Linked DNA regions of Homo sapiens: regions 2, 3 and 4 are each linked to region 1. The links are contacts of gene promoters, found by promoter capture Hi-C in blood cells and fetal thymus (Javierre and others, 2016). All regions are on one chromosome and are shown on one strand. The core of a region is centred on a gene start or on the middle of the fragment in contact, and the rest is flanking DNA. Distances in the headings are between cores, read along the strand shown. Region 1 holds the start of C9orf72 (C9orf72-SMCR8 complex subunit). Region 2 holds the start of MLLT3 (MLLT3 super elongation complex subunit). Region 3 holds the start of MTAP (methylthioadenosine phosphorylase). Region 4 holds the start of B4GALT1 (beta-1,4-galactosyltransferase 1).

Region 1 (3,076 bases), core at 281-2,780:
CCACACAACAAAGAAAAGGGGGAGGTTTTGTTAAAAAAGAGAAATGTTACATAGTGCTCTTTGAGAAAATTCATTGGCACTATTAAGGATCTGAGGAGCTGGTGAGTTTCAACTGGTGAGTGATGGTGGTAGATAAAATTAGAGCTGCAGCAGGTCATTTTAGCAACTATTAGATAAAACTGGTCTCAGGTCACAACGGGCAGTTGCAGCAGCTGGACTTGGAGAGAATTACACTGTGGGAGCAGTGTCATTTGTCCTAAGTGCTTTTCTACCCCCTACCCCCACTATTTTAGTTGGGTATAAAAAGAATGACCCAATTTGTATGATCAACTTTCACAAAGCATAGAACAGTAGGAAAAGGGTCTGTTTCTGCAGAAGGTGTAGACGTTGAGAGCCATTTTGTGTATTTATTCCTCCCTTTCTTCCTCGGTGAATGATTAAAACGTTCTGTGTGATTTTTAGTGATGAAAAAGATTAAATGCTACTCACTGTAGTAAGTGCCATCTCACACTTGCAGATCAAAAGGCACACAGTTTAAAAAACCTTTGTTTTTTTACACATCTGAGTGGTGTAAATGCTACTCATCTGTAGTAAGTGGAATCTATACACCTGCAGACCAAAAGACGCAAGGTTTCAAAAATCTTTGTGTTTTTTACACATCAAACAGAATGGTACGTTTTTCAAAAGTTAAAAAAAAACAACTCATCCACATATTGCAACTAGCAAAAATGACATTCCCCAGTGTGAAAATCATGCTTGAGAGAATTCTTACATGTAAAGGCAAAATTGCGATGACTTTGCAGGGGACCGTGGGATTCCCGCCCGCAGTGCCGGAGCTGTCCCCTACCAGGGTTTGCAGTGGAGTTTTGAATGCACTTAACAGTGTCTTACGGTAAAAACAAAATTTCATCCACCAATTATGTGTTGAGCGCCCACTGCCTACCAAGCACAAACAAAACCATTCAAAACCACGAAATCGTCTTCACTTTCTCCAGATCCAGCAGCCTCCCCTATTAAGGTTCGCACACGCTATTGCGCCAACGCTCCTCCAGAGCGGGTCTTAAGATAAAAGAACAGGACAAGTTGCCCCGCCCCATTTCGCTAGCCTCGTGAGAAAACGTCATCGCACATAGAAAACAGACAGACGTAACCTACGGTGTCCCGCTAGGAAAGAGAGGTGCGTCAAACAGCGACAAGTTCCGCCCACGTAAAAGATGACGCTTGGTGTGTCAGCCGTCCCTGCTGCCCGGTTGCTTCTCTTTTGGGGGCGGGGTCTAGCAAGAGCAGGTGTGGGTTTAGGAGGTGTGTGTTTTTGTTTTTCCCACCCTCTCTCCCCACTACTTGCTCTCACAGTACTCGCTGAGGGTGAACAAGAAAAGACCTGATAAAGATTAACCAGAAGAAAACAAGGAGGGAAACAACCGCAGCCTGTAGCAAGCTCTGGAACTCAGGAGTCGCGCGCTAGGGGCCGGGGCCGGGGCCGGGGCGTGGTCGGGGCGGGCCCGGGGGCGGGCCCGGGGCGGGGCTGCGGTTGCGGTGCCTGCGCCCGCGGCGGCGGAGGCGCAGGCGGTGGCGAGTGGGTGAGTGAGGAGGCGGCATCCTGGCGGGTGGCTGTTTGGGGTTCGGCTGCCGGGAAGAGGCGCGGGTAGAAGCGGGGGCTCTCCTCAGAGCTCGACGCATTTTTACTTTCCCTCTCATTTCTCTGACCGAAGCTGGGTGTCGGGCTTTCGCCTCTAGCGACTGGTGGAATTGCCTGCATCCGGGCCCCGGGCTTCCCGGCGGCGGCGGCGGCGGCGGCGGCGCAGGGACAAGGGATGGGGATCTGGCCTCTTCCTTGCTTTCCCGCCCTCAGTACCCGAGCTGTCTCCTTCCCGGGGACCCGCTGGGAGCGCTGCCGCTGCGGGCTCGAGAAAAGGGAGCCTCGGGTACTGAGAGGCCTCGCCTGGGGGAAGGCCGGAGGGTGGGCGGCGCGCGGCTTCTGCGGACCAAGTCGGGGTTCGCTAGGAACCCGAGACGGTCCCTGCCGGCGAGGAGATCATGCGGGATGAGATGGGGGTGTGGAGACGCCTGCACAATTTCAGCCCAAGCTTCTAGAGAGTGGTGATGACTTGCATATGAGGGCAGCAATGCAAGTCGGTGTGCTCCCCATTCTGTGGGACATGACCTGGTTGCTTCACAGCTCCGAGATGACACAGACTTGCTTAAAGGAAGTGACTATTGTGACTTGGGCATCACTTGACTGATGGTAATCAGTTGTCTAAAGAAGTGCACAGATTACATGTCCGTGTGCTCATTGGGTCTATCTGGCCGCGTTGAACACCACCAGGCTTTGTATTCAGAAACAGGAGGGAGGTCCTGCACTTTCCCAGGAGGGGTGGCCCTTTCAGATGCAATCGAGATTGTTAGGCTCTGGGAGAGTAGTTGCCTGGTTGTGGCAGTTGGTAAATTTCTATTCAAACAGTTGCCATGCACCAGTTGTTCACAACAAGGGTACGTAATCTGTCTGGCATTACTTCTACTTTTGTACAAAGGATCAAAAAAAAAAAAGATACTGTTAAGATATGATTTTTCTCAGACTTTGGGAAACTTTTAACATAATCTGTGAATATCACAGAAACAAGACTATCATATAGGGGATATTAATAACCTGGAGTCAGAATACTTGAAATACGGTGTCATTTGACACGGGCATTGTTGTCACCACCTCTGCCAAGGCCTGCCACTTTAGGAAAACCCTGAATCAGTTGGAAACTGCTACATGCTGATAGTACATCTGAAACAAGAACGAGAGTAATTACCACATTCCAGATTGTTCACTAAGCCAGCATTTACCTGCTCCAGGAAAAAATTACAAGCACCTTATGAAGTTGATAAAATATTTTGTTTGGCTATGTTGGCACTCCACAATTTGCTTTCAGAGAAACAAAGTAAACCAAGGAGGACTTCTGTTTTTCAAGTCTGCCCTCGGGTTCTATTCTACGTTAATTAGATAGTTCCCAGGAGGACTAGGTTAGCCTACCTATTGTCTGAGAAACTTGGAACTGTGAGAAATGGCCAGATAGTGATATGAACTTCA
Region 2 (3,076 bases), core at 228-2,727, 7.0 Mb after region 1:
CAGTCAGAAAGAGGAAGAGGGACAAAGAGGAAAGAAAGGGACAAAGAGGAAAGAAAGGGACAAAGAGGAAAGAAAGAGGGACAAAGAGGAAAGGCAAGGAGAAGAGAAGGAAAAATCAAGGTTCAGCAAGAAGTTGGAAGGCGAGGGAAAAAGGGGAGTAAAGAGAAGGCAAAAGAGGTCTAAGGGCTAGGAAGATGCAAGGATCTTTTTTTAACGAACCAAAGTCACATCCATCTTTCACTTTCAAATCAATCGTCTAGATCTTATCCGTTTCCTTTTTAAAGGTTATCTGCGTCTGTAAAGGAAGCCAGTAGTTGATACTCCTCTCCGCGCCCCACGCGTGGCCGCGCTGTTCTATCTCCGGCCACTGAGATCAAATACAACGCGAGTGAGAACATTTGCAGAGGCGCGACTCTGGGAACACTCCTGCGACTGGCTGTCACCCGGGAGTCTAACCGGATTAATACTCAGAGATGGATTACGCTGGTTGTCACCAATACGCCTAAAGATTATAATCCAATTTACGCACATTACAGTCAGTATTAACTTTATCTGCTATTTTAAGACTCCCGGTTGCCCCGCGCGTCCTCAGAGGACAATCCTCCACGTTCTGATGCAACTCAGTAGGCTGTCAGGAGGGGAAGCCCCCCGAAGAAAACAACTCCAAGCCTGGTCCCCGAGGGTCTGTACCCGGCACTCCCAGGTGTCTTGCTTTCACCTGGGCACCGCTTTATGAAGCTTCCCAGCCGGGGATTACCAAAGCGGAAGGCGTTCCCTTGCAAGGAAATAGCATCCTTGTTTCTCCCTTGTTCATTTCATTTTCAAATTTTCGGTGGCGGTGGCAGAAGGGCGGGGAGTGAGGGTGGCGGGCGGGTGCCTGTGAGTGGATGGGGCAGGGGGCCAGGGGATCGTTGCGGGTTAGAACAGCCTCAGTCATTGCTATTTTCATGCTCGTTTTTTGCAGGATGGCATTTCTCTCGCTCTCTTTAAGTAAGTTTGTTTGGGTGTGAGTTCTTGTCTTTTCAGCACAAAACCACAGAAATACGTGGTGGAAAGTAAAAGAAAGCCCACTCCCTCCTCCCCGTGCGTACTAGCTAAGGACTTGATTTAACACCCCCTCTCCGGCTGCTGAGGGCTCTAAGCAGTGGCTACATTCCAGCAGTTTTAATCCGTTTTTTATTGTAGGGCGAGCAGAGTTTACACAGGGGCTGGGATGGCTCCCCAGCTGGCCGCTCTCCCCACTCCTGCGTCCCCTCCCTGCCACCCCCCCAGCAGGAACCTGTTACTTTAAGCGAGGCTTTCCAGTGTGGCGCTGCGGGCCGCCGGGGTTTCGGGAGGTGGCAGGTGATTGGCTCTTTCGAGCTCCCCCTGGCTCGCTCGCTCTGCCTCCCCGCGCGCTCCGCCCCGCCCGCAAGCCCTCCCTCCGCCCTGTGAGGCTCGGAGCCCGGGTGTCAGGCGCCACGGCGCATGCTCCGCAATCATCTTCTTTACCCTGGAGCTGCTGCTGCTGCTGCTGCTTTTGCTTTTGGGGCTGAGTTTAATAAGCGAGCGAGCGAGCAAGCGAGCGCGGGGGGAAAAAGGCAGAGAATGTCCGCCATCTACCCTCCGCTCCTGGGCGCGCTCTCATTCATAGCAGCCTCTTCATGAATTACAGCTGAGGGGGGGCGGAGGAGGGGGGGGTACCACACAACACCCCAGCAAACCTCCGGGCCCCCAGGCATGGCTAGCTCGGTAAGTACGCGCAAAAATAATAATAAAAGCCCTCCCCCACTTTCCTTCCTCGCCCTGCGCCGCCGCAGCCCAGACAGCGCCAGCGCTCCGCGGTTCCAATTAGAGAAAGGTTGGTACGGCTTGCAGGGAGCTGCCGCCTCTCCCTCAGCCTCCGCTCCCCTCCTCCCCCACCCCCCCCCGGCGCGCACACAGACACACAGACACACACACACTCACACACGCTCACACTCGCCCCTCCACCCCCCGCGCCTCCCTCCCTCCTCGCCTCTTTGCAGTCACAAGAAGCGCACTCACACACTCCCTCTCGCTCACACGCGCGCACTCACACACACACACACACACGGTGGAAGGAGGCGAATAATAACTCAGCCATATTTCAGCCGCCGCCGCCGGGAGCTGCGGGCACAGTCCGGGGACGCGGCGAGCAGCCTCGGCGGCCGCACCTCCGCAAAGCGCCGCGGCCGCTACGATGGTGCGTTCTCCGCGGCGCGCGTGTGTGAGCCGAAGTGTGCGGGGCTGACAGCGGCGGGGCCGCACGCAACTTTGCCCCAGCGCCGGGAGGTGCTGAGCGCGAGCCGAGGCTCGGCGGCTGTCCGCCCGCCGCCCTGCCTTTCTGAATTTCATTTTTTGGGGGGAGGTGGGAGATACTTTGGAGCCACTTGGGCTCTTGAAAGTGTGTTGCGGGGGCTCGGTTCGACTGGCCTCGCCGATCGCGTGGGGCTTTTCGCTGGGGGGTGCGGGGTGCTCTAAGTTATGGATGCCTCGGCGTGTTTTCCTGCGGGCGTGTGTGTGTGTTTCAGTGTGTATGACGACGTCTCATTTTTGTTGTGCACGAACCCCGTGGCAAGAGCACGGGAGTTTGTGCCCATCAGCAGAGGCTGCCTGTAGTTTCCATTTCGCCTGGCACAGCGCTCCACACGCACGCACACACACGTACACAAAGACTTCCTCGGCGTGTGCCTGTCGCCGCGGTACTTTCGGGGAGGGGGCTCGCCAGGAGCCCTTCGGTCCCCCTGGGTCCCAGCCACCTCCCCTCCCACGCCGGGAAACCGCCCCGGCATCGCCTTCTGATTTGTTTCCGATGCATTTGTTGTCGTGCTTGTCGTGGCTGAGTGTGTTCTCCCTCTTTTCCCCGACCCCCTTCCCGACTGGGGATAACATTCCGTTACAATCCTGTCCGATGTAGATGCGGGGCCCGGGGCGCCTGGGGCCAAGCCGGGCCGGGCGGGCGGGTATATTTGGGGGTGTGGAGTGTGCGCGCCCACGCGCGTGAAACGTGGATGCAGAGGGCACCGCCGTTTCCTTTTATGTGCGTTTCAAGAAGGAGGAAAAAAATGTCAGGCGC
Region 3 (3,076 bases), core at 422-2,921, 5.8 Mb after region 1:
TCCTGCAAGGATAAGGTGAAAAGTTGTGGCCTAATGATACCTAACACAATAACTTAATAATTTTTGGGGAAAAGATCATTCAAAATTAATCTCAGTTCCCCCACTTATAAGCACTACCACTTAATAAGCTTCTACCATGTGCAACATAGACAATATAATTCTAGCCCTCCTAGCAAATTCTGCAGTAAAATTCTCAGTTTATAGATGAGCACCTAAGAGAAGTCACATACTTCACACGAGTTTCATGAAAACCATTTCTGCCTTGTTTCCGCCAAACAATGAAGGCAGGGGAGAGGCCTTCTATAAATATTTGCTGGATGCAAGATTCTTTTCAAAATGACAAAATAAGTTTCATATATAAGTCTGGATGCAACACCCTTCACCATTCCTCTCATTCTAAGTGGCTCATTTAAACCTGCAAGGGCGTAATAAACTAATCTGGCTGATTACACACTGACCGCAGAAATTCGCCTTCTCCCGGGAAAACTGCAGTCGAGTGTAGGGAATCGAGATGCTTTGGAGAAGATCGCAGACCTTCCTATCCCATAGGCCAAAAATTTCTAAAAATCAAACAAGAACGCATTCTTAGCCAGTAATAAACTGCCTAGAAGAGGTCTTAAGTTTTATCATCAATTTTTCTTTACGTGCTGTAATTCTCTCTCGGAATACTAACCAGGAGAGAAGTGTTTAAAACCCCAGGGAAGCCAGCTGCTACTCTCAGAACTCGTGCCCTCCTCAGCACAAAGCTTCCCACCGCACAATGACCCCTTGTATCAAGGCCTCTCAGGGCCTAGGGCACAAGGAAATTGAACTCTAACTTGCAAGGCTGCAAAACAAAGCAGTTTCAAGCCAGAGGCCTCCAAACAGTGCAGCCCTAAAAACGGACGCCTGTACTCCTTTTCGAAGAAAGTCTCAGAATTCTTACAGTATTACGCTGCTGGGGAAAACTTCAGCGCGGAGAAGGCCTACGTTTGGAGGAAAAAGAAGCCGGAAGCATACAAAAGAGCAAGTAAGCAGTTCTCCCACGTGGGCCGCAGGCAACAAGCAGAGTCAGAGAGCGGAAGCTGGAGTCCCGCAAGGCACCAGGAGACGGTCACAGAAGCTGCAGGCGCCCGGACACCTCCTGACTCCAGCCGGGTGTCTTTCTTGGAAGAAGAGTGGTTCTCAGGAATGGTGGTGGCATGGGTGCAGCCTCTCCCATCCACGACCTCTCTCTCTAAAGGGGTGCCTACGCCCTACAGGGTGCGGGTGCAGATAAGCCAAAAGGTGGTGTGTGTGTGTGTGTGTGTGTGTGTGTGTGTGTGTGTGTGTGTGTGTGTGTTGGCGGTGCGGCAGGGGGATCATTTGCAAGCGTACCCTCTCCTCGCGCGGCAAGTGAGTCCCGAGTGCCGCGCCCCAGTCCCTCCCCGCGGCGGCAAGGGACGCACGGGCCGGGCGCATGGCCCCCGGAGGCGCGGTCCCCCGGCGCGGGGGCGAGAAGGCATCCGGCAGGGCGAACCGCTGCGGCTGGGAGGGCTCATCTCACCTTCACGGCGGTGGTGGTGGTGCCAGAGGCCATGTCTGCACGGGAAAGGAATCTGCAGTGGGCGAGCGCTCGGGACTAAGGGAACCAAGCGAGCCACAGAGCGGTGGCTGTGCCAACCTCACTGCGCGGGAGTGAGCAGTGCGGAGACCAGGGGCGGGCCTTGACTCCTCCTCTTCCTCCCCGGGACAGCTGGATTGGCTGCTTGTGTGGGATCTCCCCCGCCACCCCTTCCCCAAATCGAAGTTCCCGCGTTCCGCCCCTTTTGCAGACCTTTCCGGTTCTCCAGGTTTTTGTCGTTTTTTTTTTTTTTTTATCCCCAGTTATAACTAACGGATAATGATAATAATGGAGACCATTTATAGAGCGCTGTATTGTTCCAGACTGTGTGTTTTGCACTTTAATTGGCTTACTTAACTTTCGCTAAAACCTTATAAGGAAGAGCAGCACTCCCTGCTTGGCCCAATATTAGTGGCGTCGGAGGCCTCAGCTGCAAAATCTGGCCCGGCGGCATTCCAGAAGTTCTCGCGGGAGGGAGAATCCTCACCAAGGCGGGTACTGGCCGGCCACGGAGATTCTCTTAGGCAGCTAACGCGGGGCGGCCGCCGCGGCGGGGGCAAGATTTGTCCTTCCTGCGGCTGCGAACCCACCGCGGGTTTGCGTATTTCCCTTGATTCCTGGAGGACAGAGCTGGGATGGACTTGACCCAAGACTCAGGGATGACGAAAGGGAAATAAACAGAGTAACGTAGTACTGGATAATCTTTCTGATTTACGAACTATGATTTACTCATCTTCAATTTGAGGGGCCGCTTTTAGGGGGTTGAGACCTTGCACAACTCCCAGTCTGGCTCTACCTGGCTGGGGGCATCTTTAACCCGTTCTACGCCGGAGCGGCATCGAATACACCTGGATTCAGAATCCAAACTCAGGTCTCCGTCATTCAACACTAGCAGGACGCACACACACACACACCACGAGCCCTTTACAGGGATAATCCCTCATGCTTACAGCCCCCGTCCCTTCCCTACTGGGGTAATCCAATTTAACCTTCCTTGATGGATTAAGCGTTCTGAAACAAAATAATGGGTGGCAAGGATCTTAAGGGTGGACTCTGAGATGTAGAAATGCTGCAAATTAGCCTGGACGTGGGAGGAGGGCCGAGAAAGGGGATGCTTTCCTCTTTCCTTACAGCAGCAAAACACGGAAACAAAACACAAGTACAATTTAATTCAAAATACCACTGTGTGATGTTAGCCTGGATGCTGCTCATAGAACCTATTTACTTAAACAGTATAGACTTTCGTCCTCACATTACTATAAGCTTTAGGTCTAAATTTTCTCACAATGTAAAGTTTTCTTTCTTCTGTTACAATCATCTATTTCTTTTAAGTTATAAAATGCAATGGCAAAAGAAGAATGAAAGTAGAATCCGGGTGCTCCTTTGAGGAATAGGAGACAGGGAATCCTTCGCGGATGAAGACAATGTAGCTTTCTAGGGGCCTTTCTGCCGATTGCTCTATTGAGGAGCAGGAAGCCCACCACTCAGAAGTGA
Region 4 (3,076 bases), core at 299-2,798, 5.6 Mb before region 1:
TGTAAGGAGTAGGTTGCTGAGGGCAAGATGTATTGTGTTTGAGATGCCAGTAAAATAAGCAGTTGAATCTGGAGGTCAGGGAAGAGATCTGGGCTGGAGACAAATCAGTGATCAGCATTTGGATATTATAAATCATTCCGAGGCAGTAAGTGTAGACACAAAAGAACATCATGGACTATGGCTGGGGCCTTCAGCAACTGGGGAAGAAGTCCAGAGAGGAGACAGAAATGGCCAGTGAAGTGAGGAAGATCAGAAGGACCTGGTGTCCAGGAAGTCAAGTGAGGAAAGTTGATTCTGTATGATCACAACCAAAGTGTCAACTCATAAGCCTTATTTTCTCATCTGTGAAATGGACACCGTAACACCACCTACTTCATGGCAGATAGTACTGGCACACAGCAAACTCTCAAAATAAGGTAGCTACTGTTATTCCCTGATGGTTGGCTGCCAGAGCCCTCAACTTCCCTATCCACATTACTGACAGCACCTCCATGAGTCTTTCTCTGGGGTGAGGTGTCTCTGCTCACTCAGGGCCTGAGGCCTCTGGGTCAAATCGAGGTCAAGTGGCTTCAGTGCCTAAGTCTCTCACCCACACAGCCTTCAGCCCTTACTTGCAAATCAACAAAGGGTAAACCTGTAGAAAACATGGGTTTCGGAGCCAGAATTCTGCCTCTTGCCAGCTGTGGGCTCTTAGGAAAGTTTCTTAATCTGCCGGGGCCCCACTCTACGACATGGGGAGAACTGCTACTTCATGGGACAGTGGGTAGCCCAGTGTAGACTGTAACGCCGGCTGATCTCCTGCACGCTGGCCTGGGAGTTAGAGGCTTCTTGCTGCTCTCCTCTTCAAAGTATACAGGACTCCCGCCACACACACATCTGGAACCAAGCTGGTCTGAGAGCCCCTTATAGCCCAGGCTACCTGATGGGGAGGCACAGAAGTGGCAACCCGTCCACTTTCTTTGCCGCAGGACCCCCCGTTAAGCAGCGGGGTCCAGCCGGGCTGAGTTAGGGAGGGGGTTTCGAACGTGCCACTCCTCGCCCGGCGTCGAAGCCCGTTTCCTGGGTAACCTTTTTCTGCCTCTCTTCCTAGCCCACCAAGGCCCACTGGCCAGAACGCCGCCGCGGCCCCAAACCACTCCAGATAACCACCCGCCAGCTGTCCTCTCCGTTCTCTCCGCCGCCGCGCTGCAGGCCCAGGCTCGCACCCGAGTCCCTTCGCACCCCAGGAAGTGGCGCGGCCTGTCGAGGGCAGCGTGGAGGAGGAAGAGGAGGCGCGGCTCAACGCGACCGAAGCTCCGCCGCAAAGGCTCGGGAGGAAGAGGGCGGTGCGCGGCCAAGCGTCGGAGCTGCAGTCATACTCCGGGGACCCCACGACGGCGCCCCGCCCGCTGCCCACCCTCCCGAGGCCCCGCCCAGCGCGCCCATCCCGCCACGGGCTGCCCCGCCTTCCCGCCCTCGTCCAGAAAACCCCGCGCCCGGCCCCGCCCCCGCCTTCGCCGGGGCCCCGCCCCTCCCCTCTCCGCCGGCGCCTCGGGCGGCTTCTCGCCGCTCCCAGGTCTGGCTGGCTGGAGGAGTCTCAGCTCTCAGCCGCTCGCCCGCCCCCGCTCCGGGCCCTCCCCTAGTCGCCGCTGTGGGGCAGCGCCTGGCGGGCGGCCCGCGGGCGGGTCGCCTCCCCTCCTGTAGCCCACACCCTTCTTAAAGCGGCGGCGGGAAGATGAGGCTTCGGGAGCCGCTCCTGAGCGGCAGCGCCGCGATGCCAGGCGCGTCCCTACAGCGGGCCTGCCGCCTGCTCGTGGCCGTCTGCGCTCTGCACCTTGGCGTCACCCTCGTTTACTACCTGGCTGGCCGCGACCTGAGCCGCCTGCCCCAACTGGTCGGAGTCTCCACACCGCTGCAGGGCGGCTCGAACAGTGCCGCCGCCATCGGGCAGTCCTCCGGGGAGCTCCGGACCGGAGGGGCCCGGCCGCCGCCTCCTCTAGGCGCCTCCTCCCAGCCGCGCCCGGGTGGCGACTCCAGCCCAGTCGTGGATTCTGGCCCTGGCCCCGCTAGCAACTTGACCTCGGTCCCAGTGCCCCACACCACCGCACTGTCGCTGCCCGCCTGCCCTGAGGAGTCCCCGCTGCTTGGTAAGGACTCGGGTCGGCGCCAGTCGGAGGATTGGGACCCCCCCGGATTTCCCCGACAGGGTCCCCCAGACATTCCCTCAGGCTGGCTCTTCTACGACAGCCAGCCTCCCTCTTCTGGATCAGAGTTTTAAATCCCAGACAGAGGCTTGGGACTGGATGGGAGAGAAGGTTTGCGAGGTGGGTCCCTGGGGAGTCCTGTTGGAGGCGTGGGGCCGGGACCGCACAGGGAAGTCCCGAGGCCCCTCTAGCCCCAGAACCAGAGAAGGCCTTGGAGACTTCCCTGCTGTGGCCCGAGGCTCAGGAAGTTTTGGAGTTTGGGTCTGCTTAGGGCTTCGAGCAGCCTTGCACTGAGAACTCTGGTAGGGACCTCGAGTAATCCACTCCCTTTTGGGGACTGACGTGAGGCTCCCGGTGGGGAAGGAGACTGACCTCTCGGTTCACGTGTCTTGCCATAGAGCCACTCTCCTGAGTGGGTTTTTCTCCTGATCGTTTGGGCCAAGTGACTTCTCTCTGAACCTCATATTTCTCTTCTGGGATAATAAATGGTCACCCTTTCAAGGGGTTGTTTTGGAAGATATTGTGAACAATGGTAAATAAGGGCTTAATTAATGAGGGTAAGCCCTCAGTAAATTGTCACTGTGTGTTCATTTCTTCCTCTGTGTGGATCGTGACCGAGAGCCCTTCCCCCTAGCCTCCTCCTGGTATGGGTACCCAAAACCTAGGTGAGCAGGGATCTCTCCCAGGGGCAGAGAGCTTGTGTACTCTGGGTGTTAGAGGGCTAAAATATAACCAGTCAACACCACGTTGCCCATTTCTGGTACTTCCGGTAGCAGCCTGAGTCTCAATTATCTTGCCCAGATGATCTGAACTCTGACCTCTAGCCTGTTTCAGCATAGGCAGAGAGCTTGAGTAGGTGAGTTTGCATTCCTCATAGCAGCTGGCTGAGCCTA

The links. The method cuts DNA at HindIII sites, captures the fragments that hold promoters and counts their contacts. A CHiCAGO score of 5 or more calls a contact.
Region 2: a contact is called between the fragment with the promoter of MLLT3 here and the fragment with the promoter of C9orf72 in region 1, in 1 of 17 cell types (total B cells). The highest score is 5.4, in total B cells.
Region 3: a contact is called between the fragment with the promoter of MTAP here and the fragment with the promoter of C9orf72 in region 1, in 1 of 17 cell types (total B cells). The highest score is 5.1, in total B cells.
Region 4: a contact is called between the fragment with the promoter of B4GALT1 here and the fragment with the promoter of C9orf72 in region 1, in 1 of 17 cell types (neutrophils). The highest score is 6.0, in neutrophils.

Annotation. Positions count from the first base shown.
Region 1 is chr9:27,571,935-27,575,010 of GRCh38, reverse strand. It overlaps C9orf72 (C9orf72-SMCR8 complex subunit), which reads left to right and starts at 1,530. Exons shown (of 11, transcript NM_018325.5): 1 at 1,530-1,580. RefSeq lists enhancers at 921-1,448, 2,047-2,136 and a silencer at 1,457-1,536. The HindIII fragment of the contact is 3,790 bases long and covers 1-2,089 here.
Region 2 is chr9:20,620,900-20,623,975 of GRCh38, reverse strand. It overlaps MLLT3 (MLLT3 super elongation complex subunit), which reads left to right and starts at 1,477. Exons shown (of 11, transcript NM_004529.4): 1 at 1,477-1,731. The coding sequence starts at 1,720. RefSeq lists silencers at 879-1,018, 1,039-1,498, 1,919-2,068, 2,139-2,188. The HindIII fragment of the contact is 2,564 bases long and covers 741-3,076 here.
Region 3 is chr9:21,801,231-21,804,306 of GRCh38, reverse strand. It overlaps MTAP (methylthioadenosine phosphorylase), which reads right to left and starts at 1,671. Exons shown (of 8, transcript NM_002451.4): 1 at 1,526-1,671. The coding sequence starts at 1,558. RefSeq lists enhancers at 829-1,038, 1,533-2,161, 2,162-2,792 and a silencer at 1,329-1,488. The HindIII fragment of the contact is 2,099 bases long and covers 749-2,847 here.
Region 4 is chr9:33,165,808-33,168,883 of GRCh38, reverse strand. B4GALT1 (beta-1,4-galactosyltransferase 1) reads left to right here and starts at 1,548. Exons shown (of 6, transcript NM_001497.4): 1 at 1,548-2,126. The coding sequence starts at 1,715. B4GALT1-AS1 (B4GALT1 antisense RNA 1) reads right to left here and starts at 1,936. Exons shown (of 3, transcript NR_108110.1): 1 at 1,838-1,936. RefSeq lists enhancers at 965-1,044, 567-1,131, 1,115-1,214, 1,132-1,697 and silencers at 1,365-1,764, 1,523-1,796. The HindIII fragment of the contact is 9,103 bases long and covers 1-3,076 here.